Linked DNA regions of Homo sapiens: regions 2, 3, 4, 5, 6 and 7 are each linked to region 1. The links are contacts of gene promoters, found by promoter capture Hi-C in blood cells and fetal thymus (Javierre and others, 2016). All regions are on one chromosome and are shown on one strand. Each heading gives the region's core, a stretch centred on a gene start or on the middle of the fragment in contact. The rest is flanking DNA. Distances are from core to core; before and after follow the strand shown. Region 1 holds the start of CCRL2 (C-C motif chemokine receptor like 2). Region 2 has its middle 26 kb from the start of CCR9. Region 3 overlaps FYCO1 (FYVE and coiled-coil domain autophagy adaptor 1). Region 4 overlaps FYCO1 (FYVE and coiled-coil domain autophagy adaptor 1). Region 5 overlaps FYCO1 (FYVE and coiled-coil domain autophagy adaptor 1). Region 6 has its middle 37 kb from the start of XCR1. Region 7 has its middle 89 kb from the start of XCR1.

What was found. Contacts are between HindIII fragments. The CHiCAGO score rates a contact against its expected background, and 5 or more counts as called.
Region 2: a contact is called between a fragment that was not itself captured here and the fragment with the promoter of CCRL2 in region 1, in 1 of 17 cell types (neutrophils). The highest score is 6.1, in neutrophils.
Region 3: a fragment that was not itself captured here is called in contact with the fragment with the promoter of CCRL2 in region 1 in 7 of 17 cell types (neutrophils, monocytes, M2 macrophages and 4 more); the score reaches 12.0 in neutrophils.
Region 4: a fragment that was not itself captured here is called in contact with the fragment with the promoter of CCRL2 in region 1 in 1 of 17 cell types (monocytes); the score reaches 5.1 in monocytes.
Region 5: a fragment that was not itself captured here is called in contact with the fragment with the promoter of CCRL2 in region 1 in 1 of 17 cell types (megakaryocytes); the score reaches 5.2 in megakaryocytes.
Region 6: a fragment that was not itself captured here is called in contact with the fragment with the promoter of CCRL2 in region 1 in 1 of 17 cell types (neutrophils); the score reaches 5.8 in neutrophils.
Region 7: a fragment that was not itself captured here is called in contact with the fragment with the promoter of CCRL2 in region 1 in 1 of 17 cell types (M0 macrophages); the score reaches 5.4 in M0 macrophages.

The regions. Positions count from the first base shown.
Region 1 is chr3:46,405,753-46,409,067 of GRCh38, forward strand. CCRL2 (C-C motif chemokine receptor like 2) reads left to right here and starts at 1,507. Exons shown (of 2, transcript NM_003965.5): 1 at 1,507-1,750; 2 at 2,316-3,315. The coding sequence starts at 2,328. CCR5AS (CCR5 antisense RNA) reads right to left here and starts at 1,314. Exons shown (of 4, transcript NR_125406.2): 1 at 1,145-1,314. The HindIII fragment of the contact is 3,797 bases long and covers 1-3,039 here.
Region 2 is chr3:45,910,483-45,913,797 of GRCh38, forward strand. It overlaps a transcript of LZTFL1 not described here. Among named protein-coding and RNA genes, the nearest start is that of CCR9, 26 kb to the left of the region's middle. The HindIII fragment of the contact is 2,041 bases long and covers 469-2,509 here.
Region 3 is chr3:45,932,314-45,935,628 of GRCh38, forward strand. All of the region lies in intron 15 of FYCO1 (FYVE and coiled-coil domain autophagy adaptor 1), which reads right to left. Among named protein-coding and RNA genes, the nearest start is that of CXCR6, 9.5 kb to the right of the region's middle. The HindIII fragment of the contact is 3,840 bases long and covers 1-3,315 here.
Region 4 is chr3:45,965,308-45,968,622 of GRCh38, forward strand. FYCO1 (FYVE and coiled-coil domain autophagy adaptor 1) reads right to left here. Exons shown (of 18, transcript NM_024513.4): 8 at 970-3,315. Among named protein-coding and RNA genes, the nearest start is that of CXCR6, 24 kb to the left of the region's middle. RefSeq lists enhancers at 2,368-3,007, 3,008-3,315. The HindIII fragment of the contact is 2,826 bases long and covers 1-2,806 here.
Region 5 is chr3:45,981,816-45,985,130 of GRCh38, forward strand. It overlaps FYCO1 (FYVE and coiled-coil domain autophagy adaptor 1), which reads right to left. Exons shown (of 18, transcript NM_024513.4): 2 at 3,041-3,207. The coding sequence starts at 3,095. Among named protein-coding and RNA genes, the nearest start is that of FYCO1, 12 kb to the right of the region's middle. The HindIII fragment of the contact is 2,652 bases long and covers 203-2,854 here.
Region 6 is chr3:46,062,825-46,066,139 of GRCh38, forward strand. It overlaps a transcript of XCR1 not described here. Among named protein-coding and RNA genes, the nearest start is that of XCR1, 37 kb to the left of the region's middle. The HindIII fragment of the contact is 2,939 bases long and covers 120-3,058 here.
Region 7 is chr3:46,114,737-46,118,051 of GRCh38, forward strand. No RefSeq gene overlaps it. Among named protein-coding and RNA genes, the nearest start is that of XCR1, 89 kb to the left of the region's middle. The HindIII fragment of the contact is 2,088 bases long and covers 798-2,885 here.

The DNA.
Region 1 (3,315 bases), core at 257-2,756:
TGTCGGCACACGTGGAGTTAAATTTAATGCTCAATCACATATTTGTCTGGGCTCTTTCTGTGTTTATTTTTCTCTTAATAGTTCTCTCTCCTCCCTTCCTCTCCCCGCCCCTCCTCCTCCTTCTTCTTTTTTTTTTCCAGAGACAGTGTCTCGCTCTGCCACCCAGGCCAGAGTGCAGAGTGGCATGATCATGGCTCACCGCAGCCTCCAACTCCTGGGCTCACGTGAACATCCCACCTTGGCCTCTGGAATGTCTGGGATTACAGGCACTTGCCACTGCATCTGGCTAATTTTTATATTGTTTATAGATCCGGGATCTCACTATGTTGCCCAGGCTGGCCTCAAACTCCTGGGCTCAAGCGACCCTCCCACCTCATACTTCTGAGTAGCTGGGGCTGTAGGAATGCGCCTCAGTGCCAGGCTAGTTTCTTAATTTTCTATTTCTATTTTGACAGGTACAAATTTTGTATTCAATCCTACCTCAGACACATCTTTGGTGGGAAAAGGATGTCATTTAATCAATATATAAATTCTAAGCAAATAGGTCTGATCCCCAAATTAGGTTAGTCACAGCTGCTGAGTCGTTGACCCAAGAGAAGCTCATCTAGATTTTTTCATTATTTTCAAGTTCCTCTTCTCGGTTCGTCCTTCTTCCAGACCGTGCCCTCCCCGTCCCACTCTCTTCCCACAGCCTCCCCTCCCCACAGCCTCCTCCCACCATTCCAAATCTGGGCTGTTCTCTCAATTTCCTTCTCTCTGGACTCAAACCTACCCTAGCCCCCAGCCTCAGTTTGGGGTTAAACTTGTCCTCCTCACATTCTCTCCCACCCAACTTGATGTCGCCTCTGTGTCATCACCACGGGATTTTCCTCCTCTGGGTTCTCCTTTTCCGAGTGGGGTCAGCTCCCCCATGAGTCACAGCACCAATCACTTCTGGCTGCTTGCAAACCCCTTTGCTTTCCTCAGTGTTGACACCCAGGGCAGCCCTATGCTCACTGCCGCTGAGACCCCACCTCTGCCCCTGGCCTTTTCCCAGCTGACATCACCCTGTGGCTTCCATTTTCCTAAAATTCTCTTTTGAGGCCTCAGTCTTAACCAAAGCACACAGTGCCCCTCAAAAATGACAATAAAAACCCAAACACACCGTGACTGTCATGGCAGGTTCCTGGTCCCCGTATTGAATCAGCGGGTGGGTTTCTGCGAACACTGGTGAGAGGCCGCATTAGAGGGTCAGGACCCTCAGGTCTGGACTCGTGGTCACCACATACCTTCCTCCCTGCTGACAGTAGCTGGTACCTGTTACCTACTCAGAGTGTCACATGCCACAAGCCAGAGCGTCTTGGCAGTTCTCAGCACCTTGACATCACTTCCTTGCTACCACTCAGAGCGGCAGTGACACAGTTCCCTTATCTCAGAAGGCCAGAAGACGGCTGTCAAAGGTCACAGGGAAATCAAAGGCGGGGTACAGGGCCAGAGGGAGGAGGAAACAACTTCCCGGTTGCTTTCAGACGCTTCAGAGATCCTCTGGAGGCCTGGGGGAGCTTTTGAGTACTTTATTTCAGTTGGTCCCTGAGCTCGGTGAGTGGGGCGGGTAGAGCCACCAGGGGAATCAACAGTGGTTTCTCGTGCCCCTCAGGGTCAGGAGCAGTCTGATCAAAAGGAGGGCATCCACTGTCCGGGGCCATTCCCACAGCTCCCGGATGCTGGGTCTGGAGGCTGCGCCCTTCCCCTGCAGGAGCTCAGCCCAGTGGTAAGTCATCTGTGTGTCATCTATGTATTTAACCCCTTATGGCCATGTTGATGCTGAGCATGGTTTCACTTTTGCAAACATTTATTTATACCCTTCGAGAGAAAAACGTCTCAGCTGTCACAGGAAGCTGCTTCGGGGGGTGAGCAAACTTTTTAAAATGCAGAAATTATGATCTACACCCGTTTCTTAAAAGTAAGCCATCGTACTTGGTTCTCTTTAATTATATATTTTCTTACATATTGTGTTCATGTAGGCAAGTCCTGTTTCTGCTAAAAGAAGGTAAGTTCTACCAAGGCGGTGTCATGCCAGCTTTATTTCCCGTGGCACCTGGCACACTGCTAAGCACTTACATGCTTAACAACTAGATTGGGAATGGTGCTGCTCTGGGGAAGTGGGCACACGTTAAAGAAATGTTTATTTCAGTCTTCTGAAATAGGGAATTACTCTGGCTAAAATGTAGCTCCAGAAAGGGAAAGTGGGGCTGTATGAATCCAGGTCCAGTTTGTTGTTTCCTCCAGGATAAGGCAGCTGTCGGAGGGGAAAATCATCTCCCATTTCTCCACAGGGCAGTCTGAAGATGGCCAATTACACGCTGGCACCAGAGGATGAATATGATGTCCTCATAGAAGGTGAACTGGAGAGCGATGAGGCAGAGCAATGTGACAAGTATGACGCCCAGGCACTCTCAGCCCAGCTGGTGCCATCACTCTGCTCTGCTGTGTTTGTGATCGGTGTCCTGGACAATCTCCTGGTTGTGCTTATCCTGGTAAAATATAAAGGACTCAAACGCGTGGAAAATATCTATCTTCTAAACTTGGCAGTTTCTAACTTGTGTTTCTTGCTTACCCTGCCCTTCTGGGCTCATGCTGGGGGCGATCCCATGTGTAAAATTCTCATTGGACTGTACTTCGTGGGCCTGTACAGTGAGACATTTTTCAATTGCCTTCTGACTGTGCAAAGGTACCTAGTGTTTTTGCACAAGGGAAACTTTTTCTCAGCCAGGAGGAGGGTGCCCTGTGGCATCATTACAAGTGTCCTGGCATGGGTAACAGCCATTCTGGCCACTTTGCCTGAATTCGTGGTTTATAAACCTCAGATGGAAGACCAGAAATACAAGTGTGCATTTAGCAGAACTCCCTTCCTGCCAGCTGATGAGACATTCTGGAAGCATTTTCTGACTTTAAAAATGAACATTTCGGTTCTTGTCCTCCCCCTATTTATTTTTACATTTCTCTATGTGCAAATGAGAAAAACACTAAGGTTCAGGGAGCAGAGGTATAGCCTTTTCAAGCTTGTTTTTGCCATAATGGTAGTCTTCCTTCTGATGTGGGCGCCCTACAATATTGCATTTTTCCTGTCCACTTTCAAAGAACACTTCTCCCTGAGTGACTGCAAGAGCAGCTACAATCTGGACAAAAGTGTTCACATCACTAAACTCATCGCCACCACCCACTGCTGCATCAACCCTCTCCTGTATGCGTTTCTTGATGGGACATTTAGCAAATACCTCTGCCGCTGTTTCCATCTGCGTAGTAACACCCCACTTCAACCCAGGGGGCAGTCTG
Region 2 (3,315 bases), core at 239-2,738, 500 kb before region 1:
GGAAGAGCTGAGGTCAAGAGAGAGTGGAGGCTGGCAGCGACCTGGCTAGGAGCAGCTTCCCAGGCATCAACAAGGCAGACTGTGATTGGCTGAGGAGCAAATCAATGGGAAGTGAGGATGTGGAAAGAGGATGTGTAGGTGAAACTTGTGTCAGGTTTGCTATGATAAAGTATCAGGAGTAATCCAATAAAACAACAAAAAAATGTAAATGGATCTCTTTTGGGTTCATTTGCAATTAAATGAAAGAAGTGATTCTAAGAACCTTGCTTGTATTCAATTCAGCTGTGTCCTGGTAACTGTTGCCACAAAATTTAGTGGTATAAAAACAATAACCATTTTATTTTATTCGCCATTTTGTGAGCCGGGAATTTGGAAGGGGCTCAGCAGGGCATATTTAGCTTGGGGTCTCTCATGTGGCTGCAGTTAGATATTGGCTGGGGCTGTGGCCACTGGAAAGCTTAACTGGAAAGCTTAACTACTGGCTTAGGGCCAGTAGTTGATGCTGGCTGCCATGCAGGGCCCCAGCACACGGCAGCTTCAGCAGGGAGGGCTCAAGGTACTCAGACCTTTTACATGGCAGCTGGCTTCCCCTGTGCAAGAGAACCAAGGGGAAGTTGCAGGTCCTTTTCTGACATGGCACCGGAAGCCACACAGTGTCCCTCTGCTCTTCCACTGGTCAGAGCAGCCAGAGGCCAGCCCGGAGTCAAGGGACTCGAGACTCCACCTCTTATTGGAAGGGTGTCAAATAACTCTAGGGCCATATTTTAAAATCACCAAAGGTGGCTACTCTGTAAATTAACTCATCTTTCAATGATCCCAATCACTCGGTCCCCCAACTTGACTAGCTGACTAATGCCCAGAAGTAATCAAAAGAGCCAAGAGAGTAAAAGGGATTGGACAAGGTGTGGATGTCTTTCTCAATGATAACAGCTATCACATTTTGAGGCACAGAGTAGCTAAGTGACTTGTCCCAAGCCAGAGGAAGTAGGTAGTGGCACTAGGAGTTGGATCCACGTCTTTCTGATTCTAGAACCCAATCTCTTAGAGGCTGTTGTACTTTCTCCCCAGTTGAAGTTCAAGCACTGATGTTCCAGTGGTCAGTTTGCACCATATGATCTGGATATAGCTCTTCTCACAAAGGCCCTGAGTCAGGAGGACAGGGGGCCCTAGCTGGGCCAGCCCCTAGGCAGGGGAAGAGGAACTCTGGCCATATTGTGGCTTCCTCCCAGGCCCTCCCCGCTCATGGCTTTATGCCGTTCAGCTTTGCTGGTAAGTAGGTCACCCCTTTGGTGAATGCAGAAAGACATCAACAACTGTGTAATGACTCCAGCATATAGGAATTGGGCATTTGGTTTTTTACTGGGAATTTGAGATGGCCGTAAGATGATGTGAATGTCTTTTTAGAAATTAGTTTTCGCATTTTAAAAGTTAAACTGGCACCTACTAAAAATACTTCAAACGACATAGAAAAGTATAAAGAGAAAAGTAAAAGCATCTTATTCCTGCCACCAACTCCAAAGCCCCACCAGCTCCATCTGCCAAGGCAGCCACTGCTGTGTCCAGCGTCTTTGTCAGGAAATGTCGCATGGGTGTGAATAGTGTTCGTCACATAGTCTCCCAGGGTGCCGTCATATACTGCTTCAATCCAACCCACTTTGAACAAATCCTTTCCTGTTTTTTGCTATCACAGACATTGTGGCCATGAAGATTGTTGCGTGTGTTTTTGCGTACTTGTATGAGTGTATCTGGAGGAGAAGGTGGGTGTTTTACTGAAGATGAAAATTGAGGTGGAAATATGTGCAAGAAGGGAAGATTATAGACTCTTTGGTAGAAATATTACAAAAATGGTCCCAATTCTCTACCCCTCACTGTCCCTGTGCCCTTTATAAAGTGACTTTGCAGTTCCTCCCATCCAGAGGAGTCCCTTTTCCCACACCTGGAATCTGGGCTGGCCTGTGACTTGCTCTGACCAACAGAACACTGTTGAAATGATGTGCCAGGTCTGAGACTGGGCTTTGCGAAGCTCGGGCACTTTTACTCACTCTCTTGGAAACCTGCTCAGTGGCCATCTGAATAAGCCCAGGCTATCCTGTTGGGGTCAGGGAGACCACATGGAGTACAGCCAAGTTGTCTGGCCAAGACCATCCTAGCCTAGCCAGCCTTTCTTTGACCAACTGACCACAGATGTAGGAGTCAACCCCAGCCACGATTAGCCAATGAGCAGCCAACCCTCAGACATGTGGGAGCACAGCCTCAATGCGTAGCTGACCACGGGCAGACAAGGGAGTGAGCCCACCAAGAGTCCAGAGCCCCCAGTCAACCTGCATATTCGTGAGCAAAATAAATCTTCAGTGATTTAAGCCACGGTTTTGAGGTTATCCAACTTCAAATAACGCAGAATAATGCAGCTTGGTCTGACAACAGGTAACTGATACAGCCTTTTGTATTAACAATCATAATAAAGGTCTGAAGGTCAAGGGCTGCCATAGCAAATCCTGGTTTATGGAAAAGCTTTTTATAAGTCATCAGATAATCTAAATTCAAGTAAAATGAGAATGGTTTAGAGAAAACCACTCCTACAGCTGTCTCAGCATAACGCAGTAGCAGTAATATGTTCTGTAAATGGTTCAGACTTACCATCTTCCCTGGGTCTTGGTTCCTCATCTGTAAAAGTGGGCTGACTTACAGCAAGAGCCTAGAAAATTATACAATTACACAAATTAAACAATGCTACTATTGTTACTATTAACAAACCAGTGCTGCAATGAGCTGATCTTTCTCTTGTTTTTCATGAGGACCTGCCACAACCTAAAGATCCTTAACTTTTTTTTTTTTTTGGCCTCATCCACACCTTTGACAATCTGACAAAGCCTATAGCCCCTTTCTCAGAATGCTTTAAAATGCAAACAATAAAATAGAATTACAAACCAATTAAATTGAAACACAATTCTCCAAATATTAAAGCAGATATATGAACTAGTAATATATGTGTCTTTTTACTAATGCATTACATAAAATCTATCAGATCTAATGACAACCTTCATTTCCGAGTGGAGATAAACATAAATGATACTTTGAGAGTCTGCAGAAATTGTCATGTAATACAAAAATATCTGCCATTTCTACTGGTGACAAAGTGACAGGTCTAGCTAGTACTAGTGTGGCATGTTGTCTCTAGTCATAATTGAAGGAAGACTTAAATTTTAATTAGTAGTTAGGGTAAAGATGCCATTTTTTCCCCCACCCATTTTCAAAGACCTTTGATTCTGTGTACCGACCAGCTTAGGAACTCCCTCCTAAACTGACCTCCCCAAC
Region 3 (3,315 bases), core at 285-2,784, 470 kb before region 1:
AACCTCGGTTTCTCAACTGTGAAATGGGAAGGTGGCGGCCATCATAGGCCACGCCCTGTGCTCAACAATTTTGCATGTTACTGCAATGGCTCCTTGAGGAAGGCATGACTGTTGCCATTCTACAAAAGAGGAAACTAAGATTCTAAAAGATTGAGAAATTCAATCCAGGCTCACACAGGTCTGAGGCAAAGCCATCATCTTCCTACCATACCAAACTGCCTTTTGTGGAGAAAATGTATTACTATCCCCTTTAACACAGGGGAGGGAATTAACTTCAAAGAGGTTAGGTAACTTGCCCAACACTGCGCAGCAAGTGGTGGTGCTGAGCGTTCATCTGCCTCCAAAGCTGTGGAGATGAATGGACAGACTCCCCAAAGCTAATGAGAACGGTAAGAAATGATTAAAAAACCAGGATGCTTTAAAGAACAGCTCCAATACTCACCTTTGTGAGAATTCAATTCAATGCGATACTTCTCCATGTGTTAAATTTTATTTCTAATTAAGAACCCTCGACCAACATTTACAATTTTCAAGAATCTGAGGGCAGGTTTGGGGGGTCCATTCTGGAACAGACATCTTTCTTGTAATGTGGAAATCTTACCATATTACCATGTAAAAAGTCACTTACCCTGACATAATGCCCCATTAATACATTAATGCTGGAGCATTTTATAATTTTATGCTCCAGAATTCTCCCCTGGCACCCAGGTATTTGGATTGTGCCTCAATCATCTAGTCTAGACATCATCTAGACATCATCTATTCAGTGACAAGGACAATACTCAGCCTCTCCAAAGCAGATCTTAACAAAAACAAATCAAAGGTTTGCTCAAATATAATATAATCTTAAGATGCCTATTGTCTATAAGGCTCATGTCACAGATGTGAATTCCACTGAGTGACCTAAGAAATTTCAGTTTACATGAGTCAAGGGGTACCAACACATTTGCAGTGTTCTGAGATAATCCCAACCTTTAACATGTTTTCAGATGCTCTCATGATGTTGTTGCTAATCCTTAGCTTGCTGTCACTCTCTTTGAAAGAGGCAGAAAAAAATAACTTTCAAGGTGTTGTCATTCTCCTTGCATTTTATTCCCATGTCCAGCCGACCTATTCTCCATACTGTCTTATTCTCCTCAAAGACCTGCCTTGGATCTGTGTGGTCTAGTTATTTCTAAATCTCATAACTTTCCTCATTCCTTTACTTGAGGGTAGGTTTTTTACCAGTTTTATTATAAATGATTTCAAACATTTCCCTGTTCTTTCCCATTAAATGCCACTAAAAAAACTGAAAATGATTCAGCAGTTGTAGTAAAAGTGAAGGGCAGGAGAAGGAAGGCGGACTGATTAAGGACCCCCAGAATATGAGGAAAATCACAACAGCTTAGCGTCTCTGAGCCCCCCACCTACACATAATAAAAAACCACTCGTTATCCTAAGAGCCAGGAAAATCACAGTGTGCATGAGGAAAGACAATCAACAGAAGCCGACACTGACATCAACCAGATGCTGGAGTTATCTGTCAAGGCTTTTAAAGCAGCCATCAAAAAAAATGCTTCAGTAACAATTTTAAATGTTCTTGAAACAATAAAACAGTGGAAAACTCATACCAAAGAAACAGAAGATATAAAAAAGTACCAAATGGAAATTTTAGAACTAAATAATTACAATAACCAAAATAAAAAAAAAATCACTGGACACTCAATAGCTGAATAAAGATGACAGTTATACTTGAAGAGAGAAAAACAGAAATTCCTCAATCTGAACAACACAGGGAAAAGAGAATTGGGGGACAGGGTGCAAGGAAAAAGAACAGAGCCTGAGGAATCTACAAGGCAAGGACAAAAGATCTCACATTTGTATCACTGGAGTCCCAAATGGAGAGGGAAAATAGAGTGCATCTGAAAAAATGTTCAAAGAAATGATGGTTATAAACTTCCCAAATATGATGACAGATAAGCCTAGAGATTTAAGAGCTGAGTGTACCCCAAATAGGAAAAACCCAAAGAAATTCATGCCAAGACCCATCATAATTAAACGTCTAAGAACAAAAGACAAAGAAAAAACTTGAAAGCAGGCAGAGAGGAATAACTTATTATCTATGGGGGAATACCAATTTGAATGCCAGGGGATTTCTCATCTAAAACCATGGAGGCCAGAGGGAAGTAGCAGCACACATATTTCAAATGCTGAAAGAAAAGAACTTTCAATTCTATATCTGGCAAACATCCTTTAGATATTCTGTCAAATCCAGCAGTGTGTGAAAAGAATTATATACCACAGCCAGTGGGATTTATCCCAGGTATGCAAGGCTGGTTTGATATATGAAAGTCAATCAATGCAATCCATCATATCAACAGGCTAAGGAAGAAAAAGCCTATGATCTTATCAATTGATGTAGAAAAAAGATCTGGCAAAATTCAACAGCCATTCACGACCACCCAAGTTCTCTGTTACTATTTCTAATTGTCACTGCTGTGAGTAGCATGCAAGGGACATTTTGGTAGCTTTATCTTTGCACCTCCAGTCATTATTTCCTCAGGATAAATTCCCAGACACAGGCCCATTGCATCAAAGAGAAAATGCAATTCTTGAACTTTTGGTACATTCTGCAGCCAAGTTGCTCTCCAGAAAGGGTGGCCCTGACACTTCATACTCCCCCAGCATCAACAGCTTGTGAGTGGGCTAGCTATTTAATTCTTCCTGCTTGGTCTGCCCCATAATTCAATATAGTGTTTGTCCAAGTGTGGTCCAAGGTCACCTGAGGACTGGTGGAATAGATTATTCTCTCACGACCACATCTAAACCTTCAGGAAATTCTGTCTGCACCACCTTCAAAATAGGTCCAGAATTTGCCCTGGTCTCTGCCCTCTCTGCCAACACTTGGTCCAAGGAACAAGGATTCCTCTAATACCCTCCCAACTGGTCTCCCCACTTTGGCTCTCATCCTCCATCATCTATTCTCTACATGGCAATCAGAACAATCCTTTTTCAACTGTAAATTAGATTAAGTCACTCTTAATGCTACACACCTCATTTTGGGGGTCCCATTTCCCTCAGATTCAAAGTCAAAGTCCTTACAATGGCCAACAAGGCCCTATGTGCTGGGACCCTCATTTCCACTCTGACTCCACCTCCTGGTTCTCTCTGCTGCAGGCACGCTGGCCCTTTTCTCAGCCCCTGAACATGTCAGGCATTGTCCTGTCTCAGGGCCTTTGTGCTGCCTGTTCCCTCTGCCTGAAATGCTATACCCGCAGATAGATGCCTGGCAACTCCTTCACCTCCTTCAAGTCTTATCTTCTTACTGTCACTTTA
Region 4 (3,315 bases), core at 144-2,643, 440 kb before region 1:
TTAGCCTGGTCCCCAAACTTAGAACTTAATTTCCGCAAGGGAAAAAGTTGGCTATAAGCCACATGGAGTTTCACGGAGTGGGGTGGCACTGGGTGGGGAGGCACATCTGTGGCACTGCGGTGGAGCTGCCTCAGAGAGGAGGGTTAGGAGTAGCCTGAGAGTGCACAGACCTTGATGCAGACAGACTAGTGGCAAGCCCTGGAAACCAAAGCCCCAGGCCATTCTGCGCTGTCTTCACTCTAGACAGTCCTTAACCCCTCATCTTTGTGTACTATCAAAGGCACATAGTAACTGCTCATCTCATTAACTTGTCTGTCCCAAGGGCCTTGTAAAAATGAAGTGAGCTTGTTCCCTTCCCTGTATCTGCTGTCAGGAGAGCACCTGATGGGGTTGGTTATTCATTAAGAACTCAGAGATAGGACATGAGGCAGCTGTGAACTGCTGGCCCTCTGCAGGGGTTTTAGAGGCCAAGTCAGGGCTCTCACACTCACATGCCCGGCGGGGCTGGGCAAGTACAGAAACCAGTGTAAGGAAAAGTGCAGAGGATGTGTGCCTCCTTTAAAGTGGGCAGACACCCTCAGGTTCCTGCTGACTGCTGCCACAGGGCGGGGGCAAGGTGAGGACGCAGGCTTTCAAAAGCCCTCAAACTATATTTGTAAACACCCTGCTCTTTCAATGTTGGCTACTAGTTTTACAAACTTCTGTGTGGGCTAATCTTGTTTGCAATGGTCTTGAGTTTAAACTTCTGGGCTAAGGCATCACTCCCAATGTTCTGCGCCTAACATATTCCTGCAGAGAGAAAGATGCTACTGGGAGCTGTGATAGGAAAGGGCCACAAGGTGTTTGCCTGCACCCACAGTACATTCTCCAGCCCTCACCTGCCTCATGGCTAAAGGTGCATCTTCCCATGGACCCACCAGGCCTGCCCAGGGAGAGGGGTAGAGCCCAAGTGGTTGAAGCTAGGATTACCTTAAGTCTGCTCTGGTAGTCCATGATTTCAGCACTCAGCTGGAACTTGAGGGTGTTGAGCTCCTGGTGTGCAGCCTCTTGGAGGCTCTGGGCCCGCTGCTCTGCCTGGGCGAGCTGGGCCTGCAGGCCAGGCAGTGAGCCGGCTGCTGCCTTGGCCGCCTTCAGCTTCTCCTGCAAGCTCTCCTTCTCTTGCTGCAGCCCAGCTACTTGGCGCTCCAGGCCCTCTCGCTCCCTTGAGGCTGCCTCTTTGGCGTCCTGGAGCTCCTGGACAGCACAGGCCAGTGCCTCCTCCACTCGCTCCTTTTCCACGGTCAGTGCGCAAACCTGGATGCCCAGCTCAGCTGTGTCTGTGTTGGCCCGGTGCAGCTGCTCTTGCAGCTCAGCGTGCTCCAGCTGTGCTTCCTCGGAGCTGCATTTGGCCTGGGACAGCTCCTCCTGCAGGGCCCGCAGCTCCTCCTCCCTCTGCTGGGCCTCATCGGCCCTCTCCTCCTGCAGTGCCCCTTCACGCTCCGAGCATTGCAGCAGCTCCTGGACATGGGCTCTGTTAAGGGCTTCATTCTGCTCCTTCAGCTGCTGCACAAGGGTTTTGTGCTCCCTCAGGACGGCCTCAGCCATGCTTAGCTGGCTCTGCACCTTGTCCTGGTCATCCAGGGCTGCCCGCATCTTGGCCTGGAGGTCCACCACCTGAGCCTGCAGCCGTTGGACCTCCCCCTGATGGACTTCCAGCTGCGCCTGAGACAGGGCTAGCTGGGCAGCCAGCTCACGGGCTTCATTGTCAGTGGGTGGGCCAACTCCCTGTTGGCCTTTCTCTGCTGTGAGGACCTCAATCAGCTGGGTCTGCTGCTGGCACTGGCTCTCGAGAGCCCTAAGCTCTCTGTGCCGGGCTTCTGCCAGTTGCTGGCACTGCTCCACCTCCTCCCGCAGCTGCTGACACTCGCCCTCCTTGCTCTGTAGAATGGCCTCCTTCTCTGCCATCTGGGCTTTCATGGCCTCCTTGGCCTTCCTTACAGCCAGCAAGCTCGCCTCCATCTGGTCACCCAAGTGCCGGATGCTGGCCTGCTCGGCCTCCAGGGAGGCCAAGGAGCCCTGGATGGCTGATTCCCGCTGCTGCAAAGCCTGGTAATCGGCCTGCAGGGCTTGCAGCTTGCCCTCCAGGAGCTGGTTACGCCCGACCACATTCTGTAGCTCCTTCTCCAGCTCCCTGTTGGCCTGCCGGAGCTCTTCCTCCTGGCTGCCCTCTTGCACCTTGGTATCGTCTAACTGTGCCTCCTGCAGGCCCCTCTGCTCCTCCTCTGGCTTCCCCCAGGCCTCTTGCAGACTGGAGTTCACAGGGACCAGGGCCTCATTCTTCTCACCTGCCACTGGCAGTTCTGGGCCAGGCGGCCCAGCAAGCCGCTCGAGCATACCCACCTGCTGGCTGAGGTGGTCTTTGTCCTGAATGAGCTGCTTCTTCTGCTCCTCCAGGTCACTCACATGTTGGCTCACCTGTGCCAGCTGGGTCTCCAGGAACTGCAGCTGCCGGGTCAGAGACCTGACCTCCTGCTCCAGCAGCTCCTTCTCCTCCTGTTGCTGTTTTTTCTCCCGCCTCAACTCTGCTAGCTCCTCCTCCCAGGAGCTCGTGTGGGCCAGCAACTCCTGCAGCCGTCGCCAGAGCTGGTCTGCCTCCTGTCCCTTCCCAGACAACTCCTCCTGGAGTGGGGCCATCTCCTTCACCAGGCGCTCCAGGCTGGCCCGGGCATCCTCTTTCAGCTGAAGCTCCTTGACCAGCTGTTCCAGTTGGGCACTCTGCTGTCTGTTGACCTCCTCGACCTTGGTTCTCTCCCTTTCTAGGGCTTGAAGCTTCTCCCCTAGCTCCTGCATCTCCTGGGCCGCATCACTGGGAATAGGTTCTTGCCGGCCCTTTGTGTCTGATGCCGTATCTGCCTTCTGCTGAGCCATGGCTAGCCAGCCTGGGAAGCTGGCTAAATGCTGGTTTTTCTTGTCCAGTGAGTCCCGTGTGGCCTCAAGCTCCTGTGCCAAGGGCTGCAGCATGGACTCCAGCCGCCGCAGGGCTGTGTGGTAGTCCTCCTCCTTCTCTGCTGCTCCTAGCTCCAGGCCCTGCAGGCATGTCTGCAGCTCCTTCACAGTGTTCTGGGTGGCCTGGGTGACCTCCCACTGCTTCTGGAGCTCAGCTACCAAGCAAGTGAGGCGAACGTTGTCCTCCGCTGCAGTGCGCCCCCTCTCCCTCTCTGTCTGCAGTTGCTCCCCTTGCTGGCTGACAGCTGCCCTCAGCTCCTGGTTCTCTCTGTCCAGCTGCTGCATGCGCTCCCGTAGCTGCTTCTCCCGCACCTCCAACTGGTCCAGCTC
Region 5 (3,315 bases), core at 279-2,778, 420 kb before region 1:
CATGAGATATAACTCCAAGTCAGGGAGTGTTGAAATGTCCTGAGAGCTCACAGATACTTTACAATGCTTGTTGACTGGGCACATTTCTTGTTCACCCTTGTCTGTCCACCACCCAGGGCTAGTAATTTGCATATAGTAGCTGGACAACAAATGTTTGCTGTGTGGATGAATCAATTCAGTCCCTGAATACTGACTTCCAGAAAGCTTTACCTTTATTCTAGCCACATTTCAGGTTCTTCACTATAATCCTACTGCTCATTATAGGTAAGCGCAGGATCAGAATACCCAGTATGTGCAAATAATAGTAGTGACAATCACAATTCCAACAATGACAACCGCACCTGCTTCTGTTAACTGAGTGTCCTTGAGGGGCTGGGCCTTTACATGTATTTTTCTCATTTAATATGGCATTGAGAGGCAGGGATTGCCTTATTTCGATGAATCTAAGATACAATTAATTATAATATACATTACAGTTTCAGAGCTGTTAAAATGTCAAAAAAAAAAGTACAATTTAGAATCTATGAAGTCTGCTATGATTATCCCCATTTTGCAGATGAGGAGTGTACAGAGAAATCAGAGCACTTGGCCAAAGATCATGGGTGGCAAACAGCAGAGCTGGAATAAGAACCCTGGTTTTCTCAAGAGCTGTCTAACTCCAGAGCTCACCTCTTAACTTCTAAGATAATTCACCTCCCTGTGTAGAAAAGAGGAAAACCCACCTTTGACTCTCACTCACTGCCTCTGCTGTGGGACAGAGGGACTATCGAGACACTGGATTTGGTTTAGATCCTGGAAAACCTTTTCCCAGCAGAGATGGTGGGATGTGCTTCACAAAACTATCTGCTTCTCTGGCAATTCTTAAATTCCTAAACCCTGCTCCCAAGAACCATGGTTTGAAGCAGACCTGTCCAGGACTGAAGCCAAGCCTAAGATGGCTGAAAATGTAATCAACACGACCCCTCAGGCAAAGATTAGCAAATGGTGGAGACAGGTTCTTGGGACTGATTCTTACAAGTGACTGTTGTCCACTGTACCTTGCTAGAAGTGTCTGCAATGGCTGGCACTGACAGCCAGTGAGCCAGGGGCCTGGGAGAGACAAAGAGCCTTCCTCCTCCACCCTCCTGCCTCCTCAGGCCAGGTAAACACTCGCAACCTGATCTGGGAACTCCTGAAACTTTGAAGGAGTAGACTCTGGATATGAAATATGAAATTTTCAGCTCTAATCTCTGATATTCTAAGTAATATTAGCTTTGCAGGAATTACTATTTGATTCTTTCAATAATCTTGAGAAGTGGGTGTTATCATCAAACCCACCTGGCACATGAAGGAAGCAACTGTGCGTTGGAAAGGTGAAGGGACTTGTCCAACATTTTCGAGGGTTAAAAGAGAAGCCAGAAGCTGAGCACACCCCTGCCTGACTCCAAAGTCTTTGAAACTGCTGTCACCAAGAGGATAAGTGGGCTGCCCTGCAGAGGAGTGAAGGCTGTGTACCACACAAAGATGCCTCAGTTAAGGACACTCCACTCTCATGGTAGATGCTGTAGATTTGTATGCTTATTAAGACGTTTACCAACAGATGAAAGTGGAGGGTACTGAGAAAGTGGCACCTTTCAAGAATTCCCACCAAAGTGCTCTGTGGCCTATGTAAAGGACATTGAAATCAGCCCAGGATGTTGGGGGTGGCCAGACTCAGCTGGTACATAGGATAGACAATGGTCTAGATCAGAAGCTCTACCTGAGGGTCCCCTATTTCACCCTCTTCCCTCCCAATAAGGACCTCCAGGTCTCAAAGTTATCCTCAAGAACCAGATATTGAAACACAGAAAAGACTATCTACTTTATGGAGAGACCTCTTAAAGCCAGTGGCAAACTCAGATTTGCAGAGACTGGCATTTCACTTTCTCTGCCTCTCTGTGTAGATTTAAAAAAGCATCTAATGTCTTAGCTGAAAGTAGACTAGAGTGGTTAGGAGCATAGACTGGTGCCAGGCTGTTGGTATAGAAAGTGCCCGGTGCACATGAAATGCCATGAAATTGTTAGCTATCAGAGGCCCAAGGCATGGTAGACACAAGATTAAAAGCCTGAGAAAATGTTTTTTATCTTGTTGACTTTGGAACTTCAGAATGAGAACTGCACTGTGGCCATGCTAGGCCAATGGCTCCTGGTATGGGAGATAACTGCTTGTGGTGCCCAAGCAGTTAGAAGCCTGGGCCTTTAGTCTGTCAGAAAAGTGTCACAGCGGACTCTGCAGGCATGGAGGAAGTGGTCAGCTTCAGACTGTGTAGTATCAAGTGTCCTAGAGCTCCGAAGAGCTTAAAGGTCAGCACTGGTGATGAGTGGGGATGGAAAACTTATAAAAACTCTGACCCCTGGGACAGCATCTGAAAGAGTGAAACTTGGAATTTGCAGCCAAAAAGAAAATAGTCCGTTTCTCCTGAGTCTATGAAACTTTATCTGCACCTTCCTCTGCCTTGCTTTTCTCCAGTGAGATAAGGGATACAAGTCATAGCCTCTCTCAGTGGACAACGCTGAGCTCAGGGAAGTCTGGGAGGCAGCAGGACTGGACCTACAGTGCATCCCAGGCAATGGGCCATCCGCCAGCCAGGACCCAGTTGGGCAGCAAAACAAGATAGGTGGGTCTCTGTCCTTCCTGCTCAGTGGGAGAAAGAACATTCTTTTCCAAAGAAGCCAACTTCATCAGAGCCCAGAAGTTTGGGATTTAGCCAAAGACTTAACAGGCAGCTTCAAAACACACATGTGTGCACTAATGGAAATCAGACCCAGTCCTGGAGCCGGGTGTATGATTTTGTTTACAAACTGGCTTTACAGTTCTCTGAAAGGAAACCAGGCAAGCTTTCCAAGCCTTACACAAGGTGGATATTTGAGACCCAAATATTTCAATATGATGTGACCTGAGGACTCCAATTACTCGTTGTGTGAACAAAAATGAAAGGGTTGAATTTCAACTGGCAACAGCAAAAAGCCCTGCCACAAGTCCCTCAAAACCAAACTCAGCCTGCCCAGCAACCTACCATACCTTGCAAGTCTCGGATGATTCTCTGGAGCTGGCTCTCTGCATTGGTGGAGGCCATGGTGAGTTTGCCTTTCTTGTCTGTATGTCTCCTGCCTGGGTCCAGAGGAAGGCTCAGAATTTCGGCCCTCGGTGGCTGTCTGCTCAGCAGTGGTCAGACTCCATGGTGGCACCTGCACAGAGGAAGGGGAGGCCATGGAGGAAGCAGATACAGACACAATTTAACGACAATATTAGAGAACTCTGCTCTGGGCACAAAGGTCACCCTATCTGGGTGTATT
Region 6 (3,315 bases), core at 339-2,838, 340 kb before region 1:
CTATCTCTGGGCTGGGGTGGCTCTAGTGGTGGAAGATAGGAGAGTTGGTTTTGGATCTGGGCAGAAGTATGCAGGAGCTGGCTCATACCAGTTTGTGTTCTATTTTTAGGAAAGTTGCAAGCTTGAAATCAGCCAAAGTGGAAGTATTTGGACCTCAAGACAAACACTGCAAATCAGAGCTTTTTCCTTTAGAGACCTGGTTGTTAAAATTTACTAGCACACCACTGAATGGAAGGTTATCATTTTCTTAGAATTGCTATTGGGATAAAGTTCCGAATTATTATCCTAGCTGCTATAGCTCTATCATTCAGGGTCCCAGTAGGAATCAAGTGGCTCTCTCAAAAAGGTAATTGATGACAATTCAAGGAAGAGACCATTTACAAAGGTGTGGCAGGATATAGGGAATGCAAGAAGGGATGGTAAAGTATCCCTGATCTAACAATAGTGGGAAGCTGCTACTAATCCTAGGCCTGAGCACATAGGAGAAAGAGCCATTGGAGAACCTAGTAAGACCTAAAGCCTTAGGAGAGGGCTGCTTGGCAGGGCACACAGCCGTGGGCAGAGGAACATGGTTACTTTCACCCCAGTCCAGCAGAGACGAAACCAGAAAAATACATACTCCACTTTCTTTTTCCCCCGACCCCTGAGTTCCCCTGTCTAAACTCCTGCTGGTGCCTCCACTGTCGCCAACCAGGAGAAAAGGGAACTGTGGGTGCAGCTCATACACATCAGTCCTCAGAAGCACAAGGCAGGTGGAAAAGGTGGAAGGTGGATCTACATGAACACCCAAGGGCAGAGCCTCGGGTGATCTGTCCTTATGCCACCTGCCCAGCCTAACTCGATGCCCACTGCCCTTGCCCACTGCACTGTGGGGCACACACTGTTTCCTCTGCCTGAAAACTCTCTCACGTCCCCCTTCCCCTAGTTCATTACTTCTCATCTTTGGCTTAAATGTTAACCTCCTAAACATGTAATCCTCTTTGTTGATTGTACCCTTTGGCACACTGTTGTTTATCTGCTTATGGCAAATCTTTTTTCCCAATGGTTATTACTAATATTTTTTGAGACAGGGCCTCGCTCTGCCACCCAGGCTGGAGTGCAGAGGTGCAATTATGGCTCACTACAGCCTTGACCTCCTCCCAGGCTTGAGCAATCCTCCCACCTCAACCTCCCTAGTAGCTGGGACTAAAGGTGGATGTTACCATGCCAGGATAATTTTTTTATTTTTAGTAGAGACAAAGTCTTGCTGTGTTGCCCATCCTGGTCTCAAACTCCTGGCCTCAAGTGATCCTCCCACCTTGGCCTCCCAAAGTGCTGGGATTACATGTGTAAGCCAATGTGTCTGGCCCCTAATGATTATTTAACAATAATAATACCAGTATTCAACATTGACTGAACACATATCATGTGCCAGGCACTGCGTAATTATTTGTTAGACTCTTTTAGACTACAGTCTCCATAAGGGCAGGGATCATGTCTCTGTATTGTTCATTGGTCTGTCTCTCCAGTGCCTAGGGCAGTAGCTGGCACATACCAGGAACTCAACAAACATGTATGGAGTAAAAAAATCCCACAATGAGCCTTGCAAGTTTTTCCTAGCTCTCTTGTATCATGGGAGGTTAAATATGGCTGCAAATTCTTTACTGCTCCTCCCACTGAGAGATGAAGTCCAATTCCACTCCCTTGAAATCCCTCATTGACTTGCTTGACTGATAGAATGTGGCTGGAGTGACATTCTTGGACTTGTAGCTCATAAGAAGCCTTGCAGCTTCCACCTGGGTCTCTTGGAACATTCTCACTTGGTGCTCTGACCACCACTTTCGAAGTGCGACACATGAAGCCACCATGCTGGTGAGGCCACATGCAGGAATGGTAGATGGTTCCAGCTGCGCCTAGCTCTCCAGCCTTCTCTGCTCAGCCCCAGGTATCCACCAGCTCAACAGCACCAAGGGACCCCCACTGATGCCACTTGGAAGAGTTACCCAGGGCGGGTGCAGTGGCTCACGCCTGTAATCCCAGCACTGTGGGAGGCTGAGGTGGGTGGATCACCTGAGGTTGGGAGTTCAAGAACAGCCTGACCAACATGGAGAAACCCCGTCTCTACTAAAAATACAAGATTAGCCGGGTGTGGTGGCGCATGCCTGTAATCCCAGCTACTCGGGAGGCTGAGGCAGGAGAATTGCTTGAACCAGCAAGGTGCAGGTTGTGGTGAGCCAAGATCCCGCCATTGCACTCCAGCCTGGGCAACAAGAGAAAAACCCTGTCTCAAAAAAATAAAGAAATAAAAAAAAAGGAAAAAAAAATAGAGTTACCCAGCCAAGCTCTACTCAACTTTCTGGGTCACAAAATTATAAGATCTAATAAAATGGTTCTTTTAAGCCTCTACATTTTGGGGCACTTTGTTATGTAGCAATAGTCAAAACAAGTAATATTGGTTAGGGGAAAATCCCCAACCTGCTTTTCCTTCCCACCTTCACCCATCCCGCACTTTCAGGCTCCCCTTAGGGACTGTTACCTGCAGGAGTCTTGCTAGCTTTCTAGCAACTTAACTTTGATGTGGCTTTAAGAGAGGTGCCTGAGCTTCCATTTGCCACACTCTGGGGAATCCCCCAAATGCTAACCTGTCCACTCTACAACAAGCTCCGGCAGCTGAGCTGTTCTGGGCCACCTGCCAAATATCATATGATACTCCCTTGATGTCGGGTGACAGTAAAATTCACCGACTCCTGGGTGGAGGCCCTTTTCTTTGAAGCCTGCTCTGCTCACCCAACCACACACAGCCCACTTACACGGCATCACCAATTAGAGTTGGGGAAATGCAGGTGGTGGCCCCGGGCTACACCAAGCTCCACTGCTGCCTTGCTCTCTGGGTCAGATCTGTCTCAAGCAGAGCAAATTACTGCTGGAATCACCAGGGCTGTGAGGAGCTTCAGAGAATGACCAAGGTTAGCACTTAGAGGACTGAGCCCTGGGCGGTGTGCTCTAAATGTGTGTAGGGTCCTAGATGAAGGCTTTTGGATATTTCTGGTAGCACCAAAGACTAAACAGGCATTTGAGAAGCTTGAGGCGTCTTTGCCTGCTCCAGGGCCTCCGGAAGAGGCCACGTAGGGATGTCCCTGGGGCATTTGCTAACTCATTCTCAGAGGAAGATCCGAGGAAAATATATTCACTCCCTTGTCTCACTCCTTTGCTGCTCAAGCACATAAGGGTGGGTGGAAGGAGGGAGGCTAGCGACAGCATTCCTGGTGGAGGGAGCGAGGGTAGTAAGCACAGAGTGTGTTGTGATGCAGCAAGACAGGCTCACTAGGACCAGAC
Region 7 (3,315 bases), core at 592-3,091, 290 kb before region 1:
CCAGGGAGGCTTGCTTAGCAGCTTTATCTGCAAGCCTGTTTCCTGCAGCTTCTATAGTGTTCCCTTTCTGATGACCATTTACATAAACTATGGCTACTTTGCTGGAAGCAGGAGGCTTTTTACAACCTGTTTGGCCAGTTCCCCATGCACCAATTATTTTCCCCTGCTATTTATTAGGGCCTGCTTTGTTCAGATTTTTCTAAAAATGTGTACCACCCCATAAGCATATTTAGAATCAGTATGTATGGTGCCTTTTTGGCCTTTGAGTTTTAGGGCCTGGTTAAGAGCATATAATTCACAAGTTTGGGCCCACCAGCCATTAGGTAATCTACCCTTCTCACATAAGGAGTGTTTATTTTCATTAAGGACAGCATAACCATTATTTTTCTTGCCATCTATCATTGGGATGACCCATCCACAAACAGCCTTGTCCCATCATGTAGTGGAGCTTCCCTGAGGTCTGATTTAACTTTGGTTTGGTATTCTATGATATCTAACAGTTACAGTCTGATATCTCTTTGTTCTCCTCTCCTTTCCATAGGAAACTGGCTGGATTCAGGCAAGCATTTGTGGTTACAACCAAATCATCTTTTTCTAGTAATATGGCGTCATATTTTAGAAACTGAGAATCCGTTAACTATCTCCCGGCTTTTCAATTTGATACATTCCTGACCTGGTATGGAATGCTTACTATTAGGGCCCCACCAAAGGTTAGTTTTCAACTCTTTTCTACCAGCAGGGCTGTGGCAGCTACTGCTTGCACACATTCAGGCCACCCCTGAGAGACAGGATTGAGAAGCTTGGAGACAAAAGCAACAGGTTGCCTCTTCCCTCCCCAGATTTGAGTGAGCACTCCAAGGGCCATGCCCTGATCTACTGTGACGAACAGATGGAATAGTTTCTTTAAAGACAGAAGGGCCAGGGCCGGGGCTGTGATGAGGGCCTGCTTTAGCTCTTTTACTGCCTGAATTTCCTTTGGGGACCATTGCAAGGGATTGGGTTCCTCTTTAGTAACTTGAGATACAGAATCTCTGTCTTTTGAGCATATGAGTTCATCCATAACCTACAATAGCCAGTTAAACCTAAAAATTTTTGGAGGTTTCTCTTTGTCTAAGGCAAAGGCAGAGCCACTATCCTCGATATTTTCTTTGGGTTTATTTTCTACTTCCCTTCACTAATCAGGTCTCCTAAATATTTAACTTCTTTTTTTTACAAATGGCAATTTGTTCTTAGAGACTCGTAATCCCCTTTTTCCTAGGAAATTAAGCAAGTTTAGGGTGGTTTTTGATTCCTCGGGCCTCCTCTCCCCAGAAATTAAAAGATTATTTACATGTTGTAACATCTGGGTTCCCTCGGAAGGTTGGAATTCCTTCAGGACTTTTTCTAAGACTTTTTCAATTAAGTTTGAGGCTTCTGTGAAAACTTGTGGCAGCACAGTTTGGTGGTACTGTTGTTTTCTCCCAGTTATAGGAATTTCCCATTCAAAGGCAAAGAGGTCCCTACTCCTAAAGTCTAGGGGAAATGCCCAGAATGTGTCTTTTGGATCCACCACACTGAACCACTTATGTTTATAGGGTATCTTACTAAGGAGGGTGTAGGGTTTAGGCACCCTAGGGTGGTGGGTCTGGACAATTTGATTTACAGCCCTTAGATTTTGCAACAATTTATATGACCCACCAGATATTTTGACTGGGAGAATTGGAATATTGTATGGTGACCTGCAGGGTTCTAATAGTCCATCTTTTATCATTTTATTACTGCTTGGAGACCTTTTCTCCCTTCAATAGAAATGGGATATTGTTTTCTGCAAACTACTTTTCCTGGTTGTTTCTCATTCCATCCATCGATCTTTTGTAATTGTTTTATAATGTTAGGCCAGCTCTTAGTTACAAAGACCTTCAAAAGGCCTTGCCCTAATGGGTCCTCTGGATAGAATCCAGAGTGTTTTCTCATCTGATCTTTGAGCCTCTGTAGGAATGCAGAGGGAGTTTCTTCCTTTTTCTTGTTGAATCTTGAATGCCTTTGAAACATTTTGTGTCCTAGGAGTGGACTCTTTGATCCCTTTAATTATTAGTTCCCTGAAGTCTTGCATTCAGGCCTGGTGCCTGGGATCATTATTATCCCATTCGGGATTGACATTTGGAAATTTTTGTTTGGCTGGCAAGACTTCTTGCCTGGGAGGGTGTTGCCTCTCCCAGTTGGTTATGGTCACTCTCCTAATTATTCCCCTTTCTTCTCCTGTGAACAGGATATTCATAATAGACATCATTTCGGCCCAGGTGTAAAAGCTGGGTCTAGGAATTGGTCCAGCTGGTCTGCTAAACCGAGGGGATCTTCTAGGAGTGGTTTCATTTCCTTCTTGAAATTCCTAACATCAGTACTTATAAGAGGAGGATTTACAAAGCCAAGCTCTCCCAGTCCCATGGAAACTTCCCTAAGAGGGAACATGCTAGATGCTTGCTGTGCGGAAGGGATAGGGAAGTTCTCAGTAGTCCTCTTACACTGTTGTAATTGTTTTCTTAGATTTGGATAAGGATTTAAAGAAGTAGATGGTTTGGCTCCCCCATGGTTTCTAATCTTCCCCTAATCCCTTTGTTGCCCCTTGATCTTCCTGTCCCCTATTTTGTGAGACGTATGGAGGAGGCAAGCATGATAGGGGGGTCCCAGAGCTTTTACTAGGCTCTTTTTCTCCTTTCTTGAGGGGGAACATGGGAACTAATTCCTTGATCTGGCAGACAGCATAACCTATCTCTTCTTGTGAGGATGGGGTTTTATTATTTACATAGAGAATTAAAGCTCAGCACACCCAACACTTGTCTGAACCAAACTTAGGCCAAAAGACTGAAGGATTATGAATGGAGTCTTTGGGCCAGATAAAACAGCAAAGCTTTATTATCTTTTGCTTTTCCTTGTCCCTGGTTCAAGGGTTGTCCCTCAAAACCTGTAGCATTCTCCCCAAAGGACTATCCATGGGAATGTCAGAGGGAGTCTTTAGCTCCCTCTTTCCTTTGTCCCCTAGGCCTAGAATTTCTGTTTCCCATTTTCAGTCAGTCTCTGTGTCTGAGCGTTTCCCTGTGTACTCAACACTCCCTCCTGGAGGTTTCTTGCACACCCTGAGAATTACTTGCAGGAGAACGGAACTGCGGATTGGGACTCTGCACTCGCTTTGTATCTAGGATACATCTCAGTCACACATGCTCAACCTCCGAAAATGTCCAACCACCAAGGCAGTACTTATAGTCCAATTCTCCTACCTTGGCTTGTGCACCAGGTTACCTGGTTGTTGTGGTGCCTGCTTTTTTCCCTGTGTTGCCT